Linked DNA regions of Homo sapiens: regions 2 and 3 are each linked to region 1. The links are contacts of gene promoters, found by promoter capture Hi-C in blood cells and fetal thymus (Javierre and others, 2016). All regions are on one chromosome and are shown on one strand. Each heading gives the region's core, a stretch centred on a gene start or on the middle of the fragment in contact. The rest is flanking DNA. Distances are from core to core; before and after follow the strand shown.

The links. The method cuts DNA at HindIII sites, captures the fragments that hold promoters and counts their contacts. A CHiCAGO score of 5 or more calls a contact.
Region 2: the fragment with the promoter of REL here is called in contact with a fragment that was not itself captured in region 1 in 1 of 17 cell types (neutrophils); the score reaches 5.5 in neutrophils.
Region 3: a contact is called between the fragment with the promoter of PAPOLG here and a fragment that was not itself captured in region 1, in 1 of 17 cell types (total CD4 T cells). The highest score is 5.3, in total CD4 T cells.

The regions. Positions count from the first base shown.
Region 1 is chr2:58,038,983-58,044,050 of GRCh38, forward strand. LOC107984043 (formin-2-like) reads right to left here. Exons shown (of 3, transcript NR_171623.1): 2 at 2,510-2,571; 3 at 1,094-2,086. It also overlaps a transcript of VRK2 not described here. Among named protein-coding and RNA genes, the nearest start is that of VRK2, 5.3 kb to the right of the region's middle. RefSeq lists an enhancer at 201-250. The HindIII fragment of the contact is 8,313 bases long and covers 1-5,068 here.
Region 2 is chr2:60,878,752-60,883,819 of GRCh38, forward strand. It overlaps REL (REL proto-oncogene, NF-kB subunit), which reads left to right and starts at 2,823. Exons shown (of 10, transcript NM_001291746.2): 1 at 2,823-3,099. The coding sequence starts at 3,090. REL-DT (REL divergent transcript) reads right to left here and starts at 2,563. Exons shown (of 3, transcript NR_033980.1): 1 at 2,481-2,563. RefSeq lists a silencer at 2,418-2,957 and an enhancer at 2,566-3,235. The HindIII fragment of the contact is 7,860 bases long and covers 1-4,505 here.
Region 3 is chr2:60,753,204-60,758,271 of GRCh38, forward strand. It overlaps PAPOLG (poly(A) polymerase gamma), which reads left to right and starts at 3,065. Exons shown (of 22, transcript NM_022894.4): 1 at 3,065-3,292. The coding sequence starts at 3,276. RefSeq lists an enhancer at 2,981-3,290. The HindIII fragment of the contact is 3,911 bases long and covers 2,618-5,068 here.

The DNA of each region.
Region 1 (5,068 bases), core at 1,440-3,939:
ACACTATGGAATATTAGAAGACATGTACAACTGGAATATGATAAAATATTTATATATTGATGCAGGTTGGGGAAGCCACAATACTATTAGTTGATAAAAATCAAGATGTGAAACAGCAAGTAAGGTATTATCTGATTTACGTAAAAATAAAACAATTTTAAAAGCTATTATACAACCTACATCATCCTGGCCAGTTTATACCCTCATTTTGAAAAGATCCTCACATAGGATCATATTCCAAGAAACAACTCTCCTGCAGCCAAAGATAACCGAAAGCAATGTGCATCCTAATTGCACTTCCTCACAACATTGCCAAAAGGGGAAGTACATTCAACTCTTAAAAATGCTCTTTTTCTTTCTCTTTCAGTCTCAGTTATCTCAGAGCAGCTGTTCTCCACAAAAAACTTTCATATTCCTCTCTCCTTATTCCCTAAAAATTTCTCCTACATCCAATAGGATTGAATTCTTGTCTTTTCTGTTTCTCCTCTAGCCTTCTTAATTATTTTTCTCCCTAGCATTTCTTTTTATTTCAATATGAATTTCCTGGCTTCCTGAGATCACTCCTTGTCTTTCCCCAACTCATTACCCCAATAAGCATATTAAAGACTCAGGATTTAGTGACTAATTGTTTAAGGATGGGGGATCATGACTGATGACTGGAGAGGGGGAAAATGTGTTTGTTATACTGTTAATTGAAAAAAGCAGAATAAAAATATTATATACACACAATTTGAGTATAACTGTGGAAAGCATATAACCTAAAACCTTTTACGGGATAAAAAATAAAACACTAAAAGGAAATGCACTAAAATGTTAACAGAGAGTATTTTTAAAAATTTTTTATGGGCAATTCCCCCTCTATAATTACTTCTTGATATTTTCTTAAATATTTACTATAAGCATGTATTTTATTTTTATTTATTTTTTATTTTTATTTTTATTTTTATTTTTGAGACAGAGTCTCACTCTGTTGCCCAGGCTGGAGTAGTGTTGTGATCATAGCTCACTGCAGCCTCAATCTCCCAGGCTCCCAATCCTCCCACCTCAGCCTTCTGAGTAGCTGGGAATACAGGCACACACTACCACACCTGGCTAATTTTTTTTACTTTTTATTAATAATTTTTGGTAGAGACAGGGTCTCGCTATGTTCCCCAGATAAGCATGTATTTTATAATAAATAGATTTAAATATTGGTATATCTTAAGGAATTTGATAATTGTGTATCTCTCAGCTGGAATCTATATTTTTCACTCATTTCTAGATCCACAGACATCTGAGTGTATTTGCCTGAAATAACAAGGAGTCTTCAGTGAGATAACTCAATATAACAGGTAACAGAAGGGGAAGTCAGGAAGACTAGGTTTGTCCAATTACTTTTATGATATCTAAAGAAAAATAAATCTGAATATAACATAATATCTTTCACTTGTCGTGTCCACTAGCTCCCAACTGCATGCTTAGGTCCTGAAATTGGCAGTGAGACTTAGAGGAAAACCTAAATACACTGTTTACATTAAAACATTTGTTAGCCCCTGTAGTGGAAGTAGTAAAGCAGTAAGAGAAATTGTGACCCAAAGCGACAAGAGAAGCCTTTGCTTCTGTGTGGACCACAACTTGGTTTAAGTGTCTTAAGGGCTGCAGAAAATCCAGGTCCATTTTGATGCCTTGCAAGCTACAGAATGTCAGAGATAGAGCTGTGTGGAAGAAGGCAGCTAGCAACATTAGCCAGATACTTCCACCTAGTTCATTAGGTAAGCTATGTGTCAACAGTAGATACCAACCAAAAGGTTCACAGTAGGAGAGACAAAGTGATGGAGCACATCTGAGATAGTCATTGGGAATGGTCAGGAATATTTGGGGAATAGAAGGTTCGTTCAAGACCCTTAGAGGATGTTGTTGCAATTGCATGAAAGGTAAGCCTAAAAACATGACTTACATGACACACAGGAAAACTATTTCTTACTTCTCCTCTGAAGGTGTCAACTCTATTCTTATTGAACATTCAGCTTCTGCTTAAAAATCATTCGGCCAGCTCCTCTTCTCCTCCTTATCCAGCTCATGTTTTTGGTTACTGCAGGGATGTTAACTGGGGGGGAAAAAGGATGTAGAGTGTAAATATAGTCTTATAGTTAACCTTTTATGGTGCTCGTATTTGGGGAATGGACAGGGTAAGAATCATACCACTTTTGGCTAGTCAATATTTGGTTTACTACATTCAATTGTTTGAGAGATAATCTGATACATATTTACATTTACATTTTGTTTGGCAGCAGGGTTCTACAAATTAATATGCTTAAAAATTTTTTATTGAGCCTTTTGACTATAAATGAAAAATAAAATTCTAAGCCCCCGAACTAACTGAATGGACCCCTCTTTTCAGCCAAGGACATTCCAAAGTTAACTGGAAACACCAGTTCAGGCCATGATGGAAATGGGTGGTTGGGTATGCATACCCTCTGCCCTTTGAAATTCCCACACAACTGACCAGCATTAATATTAAAGCACAGACCTTTGGACTGACGAGACAGACTTTTTGTAGCAATAAGATACCAACATGACAGATACCAGGCCCTGAAAAAAAATGAAGCAGTTTATCCCCAAATATATTTCTTTGACATGTTTTGAAATGGCCCTGCAAACATTCTCTTGTGGAAAAAATCTACATTCTGTAGAGAATCCCCTTCCCTTTCCAAGTCTTTTTCCTGATCCAGAAGAGAATTAACTAAGAATCTGGCATCTTTTTAAGTCTGATAAGAAACATTTAAAGTCTATTCTCTCTGAAGCCTGCTACCTGGAGGCTCCATCAGTAAACTAATACCCTTGGTCTCCACAACCCCTTATCTTAACCCAGATATTCCTTTCTGCTGATTCCAGGTCTTTAGATAAACTCAGAAAATCTTTGAATCCACCTATGACCTGGAACTCCCCCCTCCTACCCCCCTTTCAAGCTGTCGGGCCTTTCCAGACTGAACCAATGTACATTTTACAAGTATCGATTGACGTCTTCTGTCTCCCTAAAACATACGAAACCAAACTGTAGCCCAACCATCCTGGGCACATGTTCTCAGGACCTCCTGAGGCTGTATCCCGGGCATGTCCTTAACCTTGGCAAAAGAAACTTCTAAATTGATTGAGACTTATCTCAGATACTTTTTGGTTTACATGACATATTGATATGACATTTTAAATTATTTTTAATATTCTAATTCTTCATTTATATAGACAATGAAGAATTATGTCATTTGGATGATTAAGTTTATACTTTGTAATGATCTTATATGTAAAGAATGCAGAGGACATAGATACTTGGTCTGATTGTTTATCTAATGGGCTTGGAATTCCATTTACCTGAATTCTATTATTTTCAAAATTATTAATTTCAAAATTTCTATGTCAGGAACTGCTTAGCTGTTTAGAGATTGTAAGTTTATGAGTGCAAATGGCCTCCTGATTTTTACAGAACAAAAATACTAGCTCTTCTTTGGCAGGCAAAACACGTTCACTGATATGATCTCCTTATCTCACTTTAAATAACAAAAATTGGCTTTTTCTGAATGTTTTGTCTATGCATCATCTTTAACATTTTAATTGATTTGAAATGATCTTGGCCTTGTAAAGTATGCTTACTAAATGGTTGGGTTTTTCTTTTTCTTTTTAACCAGTGTAAGCATTTTATAGCACCCAGTTCTTTGAAAAGCAGAACGCATGCCATACCTACAAGTTGGCATACAGCCAAGAAAGTCCTTTTGTGTGCGTGTATTTGTGGTGAATCATTCATAGCCTGTAAGATCTATCAAAATAGCTTTGTTTGAAAACCTAGTTTTCCCCATATTTTTTTTCTGATGACTCACACTTCACTGCTTTCATGTCTAGATTCTCTTTTCTTTCTTGTTTCTCATCATGTTCATTCAGAAGATGTTCTTTCACTAGTTCCAAAATTTGTATTTCTATATTCTGTCAGTTTTCATCTTGAAACATACACACAGCAATATGCTCTGAATCATAAAATTCTGCATTAAATCCCAACACTTAAAAAAAACACATATTCTCAATATAGGTTTACCTGCTCCTGTTGCCATTTTTATTTAGTACAAATTTATTAACATTTAAAAATCATTGGCACTTATGAAACTTGAAACTTTATTTTACTGTTAGGAAGATTTTGGCTGCAAGAAATATAAAAACCAATGCTAAGTGGTTTAAATCATAAGAACACTTAACACTTCATGGATGAATATGAAAATATGGTGGTTCAGGATTAGTTGAATTAGTAGTTCAATAATGGCCTCAAAGACTCAGGATCTTCCTATCTTTCTCTTTTGCCATTCTTTTAAATCGATTTTATTAAGGCATAATTTATATATAATTCAATTTTAAGTGTATAACTAGAGGAATTTTGACAAATGTATAATAATGTATCTATTACCACAGTAAAGAAATTTAACATTTGCAACGTTTCAGCTCCTTGCAGTCAATCCCAGCTCTTCGATTTCGAATAAATTATTATATTATATATACTCCTTTGTGTCTTCTTTTACATAGCATTGTGTTTTTGATATTCATCCAGCTTGTTGACTGTATTGGTGCTTTGCTCCTTTTTATTGCTGAGTGATAGTTCATTGTATAGTAGATATAGTATAATTTGCTTATTCATTCACCAGTTGATGGAAATTTATTTCCAGTTTTGGCTATCACATATGAAGCTGCTCTAAAGATTCCCCTACAAGTCTTTGTGTGGATACAGGTTTAGATTTATCTTGGGTAAATATGCGAATGCTGGGTTGTATGTTAATTATATGTTTGACACTATAAGAACCTGCCAAACTGTTTTCCAGAGTGGCTGTACCATCAACAGCAATATAAGAGAGTTCCAAGTTGTTCCAAATCCTTGGTAACTTATTAGTATTTTTTGAAAAGCAAAAGTTTTTCATTTTGATGAAGTTAAATTGTCAATTTCTTCTTTTAGGTTTCCAGCTTTTAAATTTTTTATACTTTATAAGTGCACACATTTAAAGATTATATAGAGTTTCTGCTAGGTTTTCTCTAAAAAGTTTGAGATTTAGATCTT
Region 2 (5,068 bases), core at 1,573-4,072, 2.8 Mb after region 1:
TGGAGGCTGCAGTGAGCTGTGTTCATGCCAGTGCATTCCAGCCTTGGTGACAGAGCAAGACCCTGTCTCCAAAAAAAAAAAAAAGACATAATGAAGTTGCCAGATGTTTGTACTTGTACCTAGAATCAGTGTGAATGCAAGTGCTGCAAATGCAGCCTGATACTACTGTGGTTTTTTGTTTGTTTGTTTTCTGAGACACAGTCTTGCTCTGTCATCCAGGCTAGAATGCAATGGTGTGATCTCGGCTCACTGCAACCTCCACCTCCCCAGTTCTAGCGATTCTCGTGCCTCAGCCTCTCAAGTAGCTGGGATTACAGGAGCACACCACTACGCCCAGCTAATTTTTGTATTTTTAGTAGCGACAGGGTTTCACCATGTTGCCCAGGCTGGTGTTGAACTCCTGACCTCAGGTAATCCACCCGCCTCGGCCTCCCAAAGTTCTGGGATTACAGGTGTGAGCCACCACAGCTGGCATACTGTGTTGTATTGATGAGCTGTCAGAGTTACAATTTTCCAACTTTTAAAACATTTTTTAATAAAAGTCTGCCCTCAATTTATACAATATTTGCATTCCTGGGAAATTCAGTATATATTAAAAACCATACAAAAATATTTTATATCTATATATGAAAGGGAGTTGTGTTCTAACCATATATTATTAAAATAGGCATTTCAACTACATGAAAGTGAATGTTTGATGAGACGTTTGAAGGTCATGAGGATGAGGGACAATTCTTGACTGTGCTCTTTCCTATCTCAAGGACCTGCTGCCTGCTGTTCCCCCAGCTGGAATGTTCTTTCCCTGAATCTCCCTGTGAATGGCCTTTTTTTTTTTTTTTTTTTTTTTCTGAGACGGAGTCTCGCTCTGTCGCCCAGGCTGGAGTGCAAGTGGCATGATCTCGGCTCACCGCAACCTCCGCCTCCCAGGTTCAAGCAATTCTCTACCTCAGCCTCCTGAGTAGCTGGGGTTACAGGCGCCCGCCACCACGCCTGGCTAATTTTTGTATTTTTAGTAGAGACGGGGTTTCACCATCTTGGCCAGACTGGTCTTGAACTCCCAACCTCGTGATCCACTTGCCTCAGCCTCCCAAAGTGCTGGGATTACAGGCATGAGCCACTGCGCCTGGCCGGCTCTTTCTTAAACTGAGGACTCAGCTCAAATGTCACCTCCTCAGAACTTTCCTCTCCCCCAGTCACTTTTCATTTTGAAATTCCTTCAGAGAACTGAAAATGTTTTCCGTCTCTTTGAAATGTATGTACATATTTTAAAAAGCTAAATAAGCCTCTTGCTAGTTTTGCGTCCTCAGAAGGTCTTTCTTGCGGGCCTCGGAGCCATCTCTTGGAAATGTGAACATCAAGGATGGTGCTCCATGTTTCTGTCTCTAGGAGGGTTTAAGCCTTGGCTCTTGGTTCCAAGATAACTTCCCATTATTTTCCTTTGGATAAAGACAATTAATAGGTATGTAATGGATTGTACGTGCCTGACCATATGAAAAGGTGAGATTTCCTTTTTTTTGGTCTTTGCACTCTCTTCAGTGGATTGCCTGTGATGTGCATCATGGTACGTTTTAGTACATATCCAATAATAAAACTGTTTCATTCTTTTGTTGTACATTGCGCATTTCGTGGAAAGAACAGTTTGGGGTTGGCAGGATATTTTAAATTATTTGCCCATATGGGTCCCCCAGTTTTGGGCACTTGTATGGCAGGCTGATATTCCCCATTACCTCTCCGTACTAATTTTAACTAGTAAGGGACAGGGGCAAGGGCATGGAGCTTTGGAGTCAGACAACCCTGGCTTTAAACTGTGCCTTTTATCAGCATTCTGAAGTACTGTATGTTGAAGTAACTTCTCTGAACCCCGAATACTTCATCTATAAAGTTAGGAATAATAAATACGTCATAGATTAAGTATGGACATTATCTGATGCATAGCAGGTACTATTCAAATGAAGGAAACGAAGTTATCCTAGGTCCTTTAATGCACTAAATGTGTGCTCCATTTCCGCCTTTCTTGGCATCTGTGTGAAATCTCAGGATATAGTGTCCACTAAACTTCAGTGCACTGCCTAATGAGACAACGAACTCCAAGTGCGGACCTTTTGAGTTTAAACGGGTTTCAGTAGGTAAAATACGTAAAGTTCACAGTACCCTCGCAATTTAGATGGAGGAAAAAAAATCAGTCGGGGGGGGGGTCCCCGTATGCAAATACAGGAATTACAGAAGAAGACAGGACCCCCGCCGCAGCACCACTTCCCCCTACAGGGCGCAACGTCCCGCCGCTGGCGCGGGGGTGGAGATTTGCATGTGCGAAGTCGGGAAGAGGGGGAACCACCTCTCGAAAACCCCGGCCGTCGCCCTCCCAGGCCGGGAGAGTCGGCCCCGCGCGCCCCCAAAAGCTCCCCAGCGGCCGGCCCTCTCTACGTCATCCGCACCCTCCCGCCCGCTCCTGAACTTTAAACCACACTCGGAAGAACAACCTGGAGGAGGGGGATTTCTCAGGAGCCAGCGGCCTTCTCACGCTGCTAGCCGTCACCTCCCGGCTCCCGCCGTTCCCTGCGCTCCCGAAGCCCACCCCAAGCTCCCGCTCCCTCGACCCCCTCCCAAGCCAGCCGCCGCAGCAGCGCCGGGGGCGTATGCGTGGGGGCCGGCGGGGAGCGTGCGCGGGGACAGGCAGGGGCGGGGCGCTGGGGGCGGTCGCGCGCGCGGCGGCCGCGAGGTCGCCCCGCCCACGCCTCCGGGTGAGGGTTGCTGCGTCGGGCCTACGTCAGCCGCGGGAAATTCCCCTCCCGCCAGGCTGCTCGCCTCTCGGCTGGGCCAGCACTCGGCTCTCCCCGCTCCGCCCCCTGCCCCTGGCTCCCGTACGGTGGACGGCGACGCTGGGTGACCCGGGGTGCAAGAATTCAGGGGTTGGGAAGGTGTGAGCCGCAAACCCAGCGGAGGGCGGGAAGAAGGAGGAGGCCTCTAGGGTGGTCGGGGGACTGGGGGCCCCGCCGGCAGAGGTCCCTCGGCCTCCTGACTGACTGACTGCGGCCGCCTCCGGCCAGGACGCTGGGAGCTGCCTGCGGGAAGGTGCGGGGAGCGGAGCCATGGCCTCCGGTGAGTGTTCATGGGGCGCGGGCCTGGGCCGGGGGAAAGGAGCTCTTCTGAAGGGGGTCCTGCCGCAGTGAGTTTAGGGAGCTCAGTTTTTGCTGGGGCGCGTTCTGTCTTTAAAATCTCATATGGTAAAATTGTCAGCTTTTAAAAAAGTTACCTGCTTCAGGGTTTGCGTGCAGAATCCAAGCCACGCTCTGTAATTCGATCCTGTTGTCATAGCAGGAACCTTAGAAATTCCCAACGACTTGATTTTAGGATTAGGGAAGTCATAAGCGAACCAAAGGAGGACGAAGAGTTCTCATTAAAAATGTATATGTATTGAAGATGGTGGTTTTATGTTTTAGAACAGGAATGAGGAACCTTCAGACCTCGGGCAAGCTCTCTCCCCCTTTTTAGTTTAATTTCATCAAATGCAAAGAGGTGATCCCCCTTGTACTGACAGTTGTACAAAATGTGTCACGGCTTTAAAAATCATCCGTGGTATTTTAACACGAATTAGAAAATCCGTGGTATTTTAAGTGTTAATGTTGCTTCGACCAAGTGTAGGCCGGGCGCGGTGGCTCATGCCTGTATTCCCAGCACTTTGGGAGGCCGAGGCGGGTGGATAACCAGAGGTCAGGAGTTTGAGACCAGCCTGGCAAACATGGTGAAACCCCGTCTCTACTAAAAATACAAAAATCAGCGGGGCGTGGTGGCGCGCGCCTGTAATCCCAGCTACTCGGGAAGCTGAGGCAGGAGAATCGCTTGAACCTGGGAGGTGGAGGTTGCAGTGAGCCGAGATCGCGCCCCTGCACTCCAGCCTGGGCGACAGAGGGAGACCCTGTCTCTATTTAAAAAAAAAAAAAATGTAGTTTTTACTGTGAGATAAAGCTCAAGGTTCCTAATCTGACGAATAGAGACGTTGAATCCCCCTTCCTCCTCGCTGGAAATAAGGGGAAAGAGGAGTTTTAGAATATCCGAGCTTTAAAATAATGAGTAGGAATGAATACAACTTTATCACTTATGTGACTATATATTTTCCCTTAATAAATGCTCGATCTCTCCCTTTGGGGGGGAATAAGTTTGTAAGAAACATTGCAGAGCAAGAAAGTCTCCTATATACACAGATGTGGTTGGGGCTGCCTGGAGCTTAAGGTTGAGGGGGACGGGAGAGCCGGGGCGGGGGGATAAATCAAGTAGCCTGGGGTCGAGTTGGTCTTTTACCAGGATTTTGGCAAGGTGAGTGGGGGACACTTTCCAGACAGAGGAAGCAGCGTGAGCAAAGGCAGGGAGGGCTAAATGCATGTTAAATGCTGTACTAAGAGAATGAAGAGGGGGCCCCGTTTATGAACTTGACTCTTATCCCCAAACTGCCTGGTCCAGTGACCCTCAGAAGTAGGCTGATGTCTAGTAGAGATGAGGAAGTAGGAAGCTTAAAGAACCTTTTTAAAAGGTTGAGCAGAACAATGCCATAGCTATTGCTGTAGGCAGAAAAGGAAATTGGGGTGTTTCACATGACATTTGATTTCAGTTTGTTTGTGGTTGTGAGAATACTAAGTGTAGTTTAAAATATTTCAACTTTCCCTTTTCCCACTTAAGTGACACCAGACTTTCAGATAATCGTGTAAATTTATGAATTCAAAGCATGTGTAGATTAGAAGTGCTAAGATGACTTCAAATATTTTGTTAATGTATTGGTTATCAGAAAGATTTTGTTTGGAAGTAATGGAGAATGCCTAGCATTATAAGTAAGTTCAGGCTCTTGGCGATTTAATCAAACTTTATTGATATATTGCATGAATTTAATACTTCTAATTTTTTCAGTTGAGAGAGGAAACAACCATTTCTATATAGAGTATTGTAAGACCCACAGGATTTTAAAATTTGATACAATTTAAATTTGTTCATTGACACTGTATTTTGTGCTGTTGTGAGGAGGAAGGATTCCCTAAAAGTAAGGAGGAAATGTTTAAAGAAATGGAAAGTTTTAAAG
Region 3 (5,068 bases), core at 1,815-4,314, 2.7 Mb after region 1:
GGAGCATATACTGGTATAAACTTCTAAGAGGACAATTTCAAGTATATAAATTTTATTTTACAATATACATGTCAGCGGGGCGAGGTAGCTCGCGCCTGTAATCCCAGCACTTTAAGAGGCCTAGGCGGATACATCACTTGAGGAAAGGAGTTTGAGACCAACCTAGCTAACATGGTGAAACTCCATCTCTACTAAAAATACAAAAATTAGCCAGGTATGGTAGCGCGCACCTGTAATCCCAGCCACTGGGGAGGCTGAGGCAGGAGAATGGCTTCAACCCAGGAGATGGACATTGCAGTGAGCCAAGATCACAGCACTGCACTCCAGCTTGGGCAACAGAGGGAGAGTCTGTCTCAAAAATAAAATACAGGCCGGGCACGGTGGCTCACGCCTGTAATCTCAGCACTTTGGGAGGCCGAGGCAGGCGGATCACCTGAGGTCAGGAGTTCAAGACCAGCCTGGCCAACATGGCAAAATGCTGTCTCTACTAAAAATACAAAAATTAGCTGGGCATAGTGGCGGGCACCTGTAAACCCAGCTACTCAGGAGGCTGAGGCAGGGGAATCACTCGAAACCGGAAGGTGGAGGTTGCAGTGAGCTGAGATCACATCACTGCACTCCAGCCTGGGCAAGAGATGGAAAGGAGGGACAGACGTCCGCTCTTTTTTTTTATGCGCATGGGTTAGTTTTGTCATTTGAAAATTTTTAACTTAACAAATACAGTTACAATATACACTGCAAATAAGAAAAATGTCCTTATTGAAATTGGGGTTGGGAAAAATACAGTATCCTTATTGAGATGGGGGTTAGGGACTGTCATTAAATCCCAGGTAGATTAACAAAGACAGGAAAATGGGAAGAAAAGCAATTGATTAAAACACCGTGGCCGGGCATGGTGGCTCACGCCTGTAATCCCAGCACTTTGGGAGGCTGAGGCTGGCGGATCACGAGGTCAGGAGTTCAAGACTAGCCTGACCAATATGGTGAAACCCTGTCTGTACTAAAAATACAAAAATTAGGCTGGAAGCGGTGGCTCACGCCTGTAATCCCAGCACTTTGGGAGGCTGAGATGTGCGGCCAACATGGTGAAAGTCCATCTCTAAAATACAAAAAATTAGCCAGGCGTGGTGGCGCACGCCTGTAGTCCCAGCTACTCGGGAGGCTGAGACAGGAGAATCATTTGAACCCAGGAGGCAGAGGATGCAGTGAGCCAAGATCATGCCACTGTGCTGCAGCCTAGGTGACAGAGCAAGACTCCATCTCAAAAATAAATAAATAAATAAATAATAAAACACTGCTTGGCTGGGTGTGGTGGCTCACATCTGTAATCCTAGCACTTTGGGAAGCCGAGGTGGGCGGATTACCTGATGTCAGGAGTTTGAGACTAGCTGGCCCACATGGTGAAACCCCGTCTGTACTAAAAATACAAAAATATAGCTGGACGTGGTGGTGCATGCCTGTAATCCCACCTACTCAGGAGGCTGAGCAGAGATCACGCCACTGCACCCCAGCCTGGGCAACAGAGCGAGACTCCATCTCAAAAAAACCTCTGCCTCTCGGGTTCACGCAATTCTCCTGCCTCACCCTGCTGAGTAGCCGGGATCACAGGCGCACCACGCACCCAGCTAGTTTTTCTATTTTTAGTAGAGATGGGGTTTCACCATGTTGGCCAGGCTGGTCTCGAACTCCTGACCTCAAGTGATCCACCCGCCTCAGCCTCCCAAAATGTTAGGATTACAGGTGTGATCCACCACACCAGGCCACGTCAGGTTTTTGTTGTTGCTTTTAAGTAGAGATGGGTTTTTGCCATGTTGGCCAGGCTGGTCTTAATAGAACTCATGGCCTCAAGTGATCCACCAGCCTTGGCGTCACAAAGCACTGGGATTGCAGGCAAGAGCCACTGCACCTTGCTCAGGTTTTCAAAAATATGTTTTGTAGTTTTTATTTATTTATTTATTTATTTATTTTTTTGAGACAGGGTCTCCTTCTATCACTCTGGCTGGAATGCAGTGGTGCCATCCTGGTTTCCTGCAGCCTCCACGTCCTGGACTCAAAGAGATCCTCCCACCCCAGCCTCCTGAGTAGCTGGGACTACAGGCATGGGCCACCATGCCCAGCTAATTTTTTTAAAACTTTTTGTAGTGACAGGGTCTCACTATGTTGCCCAGGCTGTTCTCGAACTCCTGGCCTCAAGCAATTCTCCCACCTTGGCCTCCCAAAGTGCTGGGATTACAGGTGTGAGCCACTGTATCTTGCCTCAATAAATATTTTTTAATGAATTAATCAGCAAGTAATCTCCTCTATTTACTGTGACTCTGAGTTATGTTCAAGAGCAAGCAGTTCTTGACTTCCTTTTCTTTGTAATGATTTAGTGCTTGAAATTACTTCTACCTTTCAGCATTTTAAAATTGGTTATTATTTTCTCATTTTCATCCCCACACTCACATCGAACATGATTTCCACTATTTAAAAGTGTAAGATTTTTGTTTCAGCCTGGGATTTATCCTATTGCAAACTGCTAGCTACTATTTTCAACCTCTGTCAGCTAAATGCCAGAATGTCACTAATCAAAGGTGGTACTTAGGGGTGAAGTGAACAGTTAAGCCTCCAATTTACAAGCTTGTTTTTCCCTGGGATACTTGTGTGAAAGTCGTATGTTCCTGGGTGTGACCCTTTCGAGACAAAATCTCAACTGGTGAGTTAATTATGTATAACTATAATTAAATCAAAGATGTAGGATAACGGAGGCGTTGAAATAGTTTTTGCTAGGCAAGGGTGTGACCTTTTTAAAAAATGTATGATATATGCTGCCATTCGAGAGGCAAGGAAAACATATCTCCAAATTTCCTTCCAAGCGGTCTACCGGCATTGACAGTACCGCGGACAAAGGAGAGTACCAAATAAATACTCCTTCGAACCAACGGTATACTGAGAGCCCTGAGCTTGTGGGCGGGGCCCCGGAGCCTCCCGGGACCTAAAGGCAGAGGGGGCGTGGCTGAGGGTGGTCCAGACCTCCAGGGGCGGGGCTGAGACCTGCGAGAGGCAGGCTGGGAAGCGGCGCCATATTGGCGTCGGCCGCGCTGTATTGTCATAAATAGAGCCGGTTTTGTGGTGTTTTCACTACTCGGTTGGATGCCTCAGCCATAGTAAGTGGGAAAGTGAGCGAGCAAGCGAGCTACTAGCGACCGGAGGAAAGTGAACAGGGGGAGAAGGGAACAGCAAGAACAGGACTCCAGAGCGATAAACACTCGCTGGAGAGGGAGACGCAGGAAGCGATGAAAGAGATGTCTGCGTAAGTGGTGGGGGGCGGCGGTTGGGGTGAGGCGGGTAGGGGTGAGCTGAGGTGGTCCGACTGTGTCCTTGTTTCCGTTCCCTGTCCCTTGCGCCCTGCACGCAGCTCGCCGGGATGGTCTCCTTCCCGGCTCCCGGCCGGTCCGCAAGGGCACCTCCCCTAAACCCGGCGGCTCACCTGGCCACCCCTGCACGGACTCGGGGACTCCGGGAGTCCCCAGCTGTCCCGCCTCCGAGGACGCCCTCAGAAAAGGATGAGGAGGGAAAGAGGTGCCTGTGTCCGTAGGGAGAAATTGTCGGTCACTCGCCTGCCCCCAGCACTGTCTGAGCCCGTCTGCTCCTGTCTGCATTGGCGCAAATACCATCCCCCTGCCTCCCCCTCCTCCCTTCCCGACCGGCTGTCTCCAGGTCTTCAGGAGTGAAAGACCTATCGCAGCCCAAGGGTTTCTCTTTCATATGAGGCTACAGTCTTTTCACCGCCGTCCCCACCCTCTCCCTCACCCCCTGCTTCCCCACCTACCCACAACATCTACCGGTCTGTACCTCTTGTTCACACTTTGATAAGTCAGAAACAGTTCCCGTACTTGGCAAGATTTTGTTGTAGCTTCTTCCATTTTGGTCTATTAGGAAATAATTTAAACATGCAGAAAAATGTAGAGAATAACATAAGCATCATTTGTGGAGCCACCACCCATTTCTCCCAAAACGTAACTGTACACACATACACGTACATGCACACACGCACACACACGGTGTGTATATACGTATCTGTGTATTTATTTTAAAAAGAAATCAAGCATTCCAGATACATCTGAAGGACTCTCCTACCTCCTTCTCTGGTCCCAATCATCTCTTGCTCCAGATGTCTCCACAGTCTTGAATTTGATGTTTATCGTTGCTGCCTGTTTTTTATTTTACTTCTTTTTTTTCCGCCCTCGAATCATGGGAGCTGCATGTTTTTTAATGCTATTACTACATACACATGTGTTCATAATAACTGGCATAGTTCTAGTTGTTTTTAAACTTTATATAACTCGTATCACACTTGGAATTCTGTAACTTCTTTAGCACAACATAGTATCTCTGAGCTTTGTTCATGTTAGTATTTTAGTTGTAATTAATTAATATTAATTATTGTATTGTATTCTATTGTAGGAAAACACCCTAATTTAATTCTTTTCCTGTTAGTGACTATTTTATTTCTAAGTTTTTAATGTTACAATGTGACAGTGAACGTTCTTTTAGGTGTCTCTTTGTACGCTTGTAACTAGAATTTCTCTAGGTTGTTTGCCTGTAAGTGAAATTGATGGTTTGAAGGGAATGTGGGATTCTGTTGTTTACTTTCCCCTCCCCTCTAGATGGGGGAAGTTCAGAACCTGGATTTGGAATTTTAGGGCCAGTAGGCTAGTTGGCCAACTTTGTCAGCATACAGGTAAAAAAGTGAGGCCCGTCATCATGGTGTCAGAGCTGAAGTAGTTAGAGAGGAGAGAATGGAGTAGTGGAAAGAGGTTTTGGAGTTCAGATTCTGGCTTGTCCTCTCTTTGACTTTCAGGTACTTATCTGTAAAATGGCACTTATTCAATACCCCTTAGGATTATTGCGATTGAGTGATACTATATAGATATGTAGATAATTACTCTGTCCTATTCACTTACCGTATATATTTACATATGTATTACACAAACAATACCAAAACACTGCTCTAGCTTTCTCAGAGGTAAAAAGCCAAATCTTTAAAAAGAAATTACCACTTGAAATAACTAATTGAAGTTTTGTT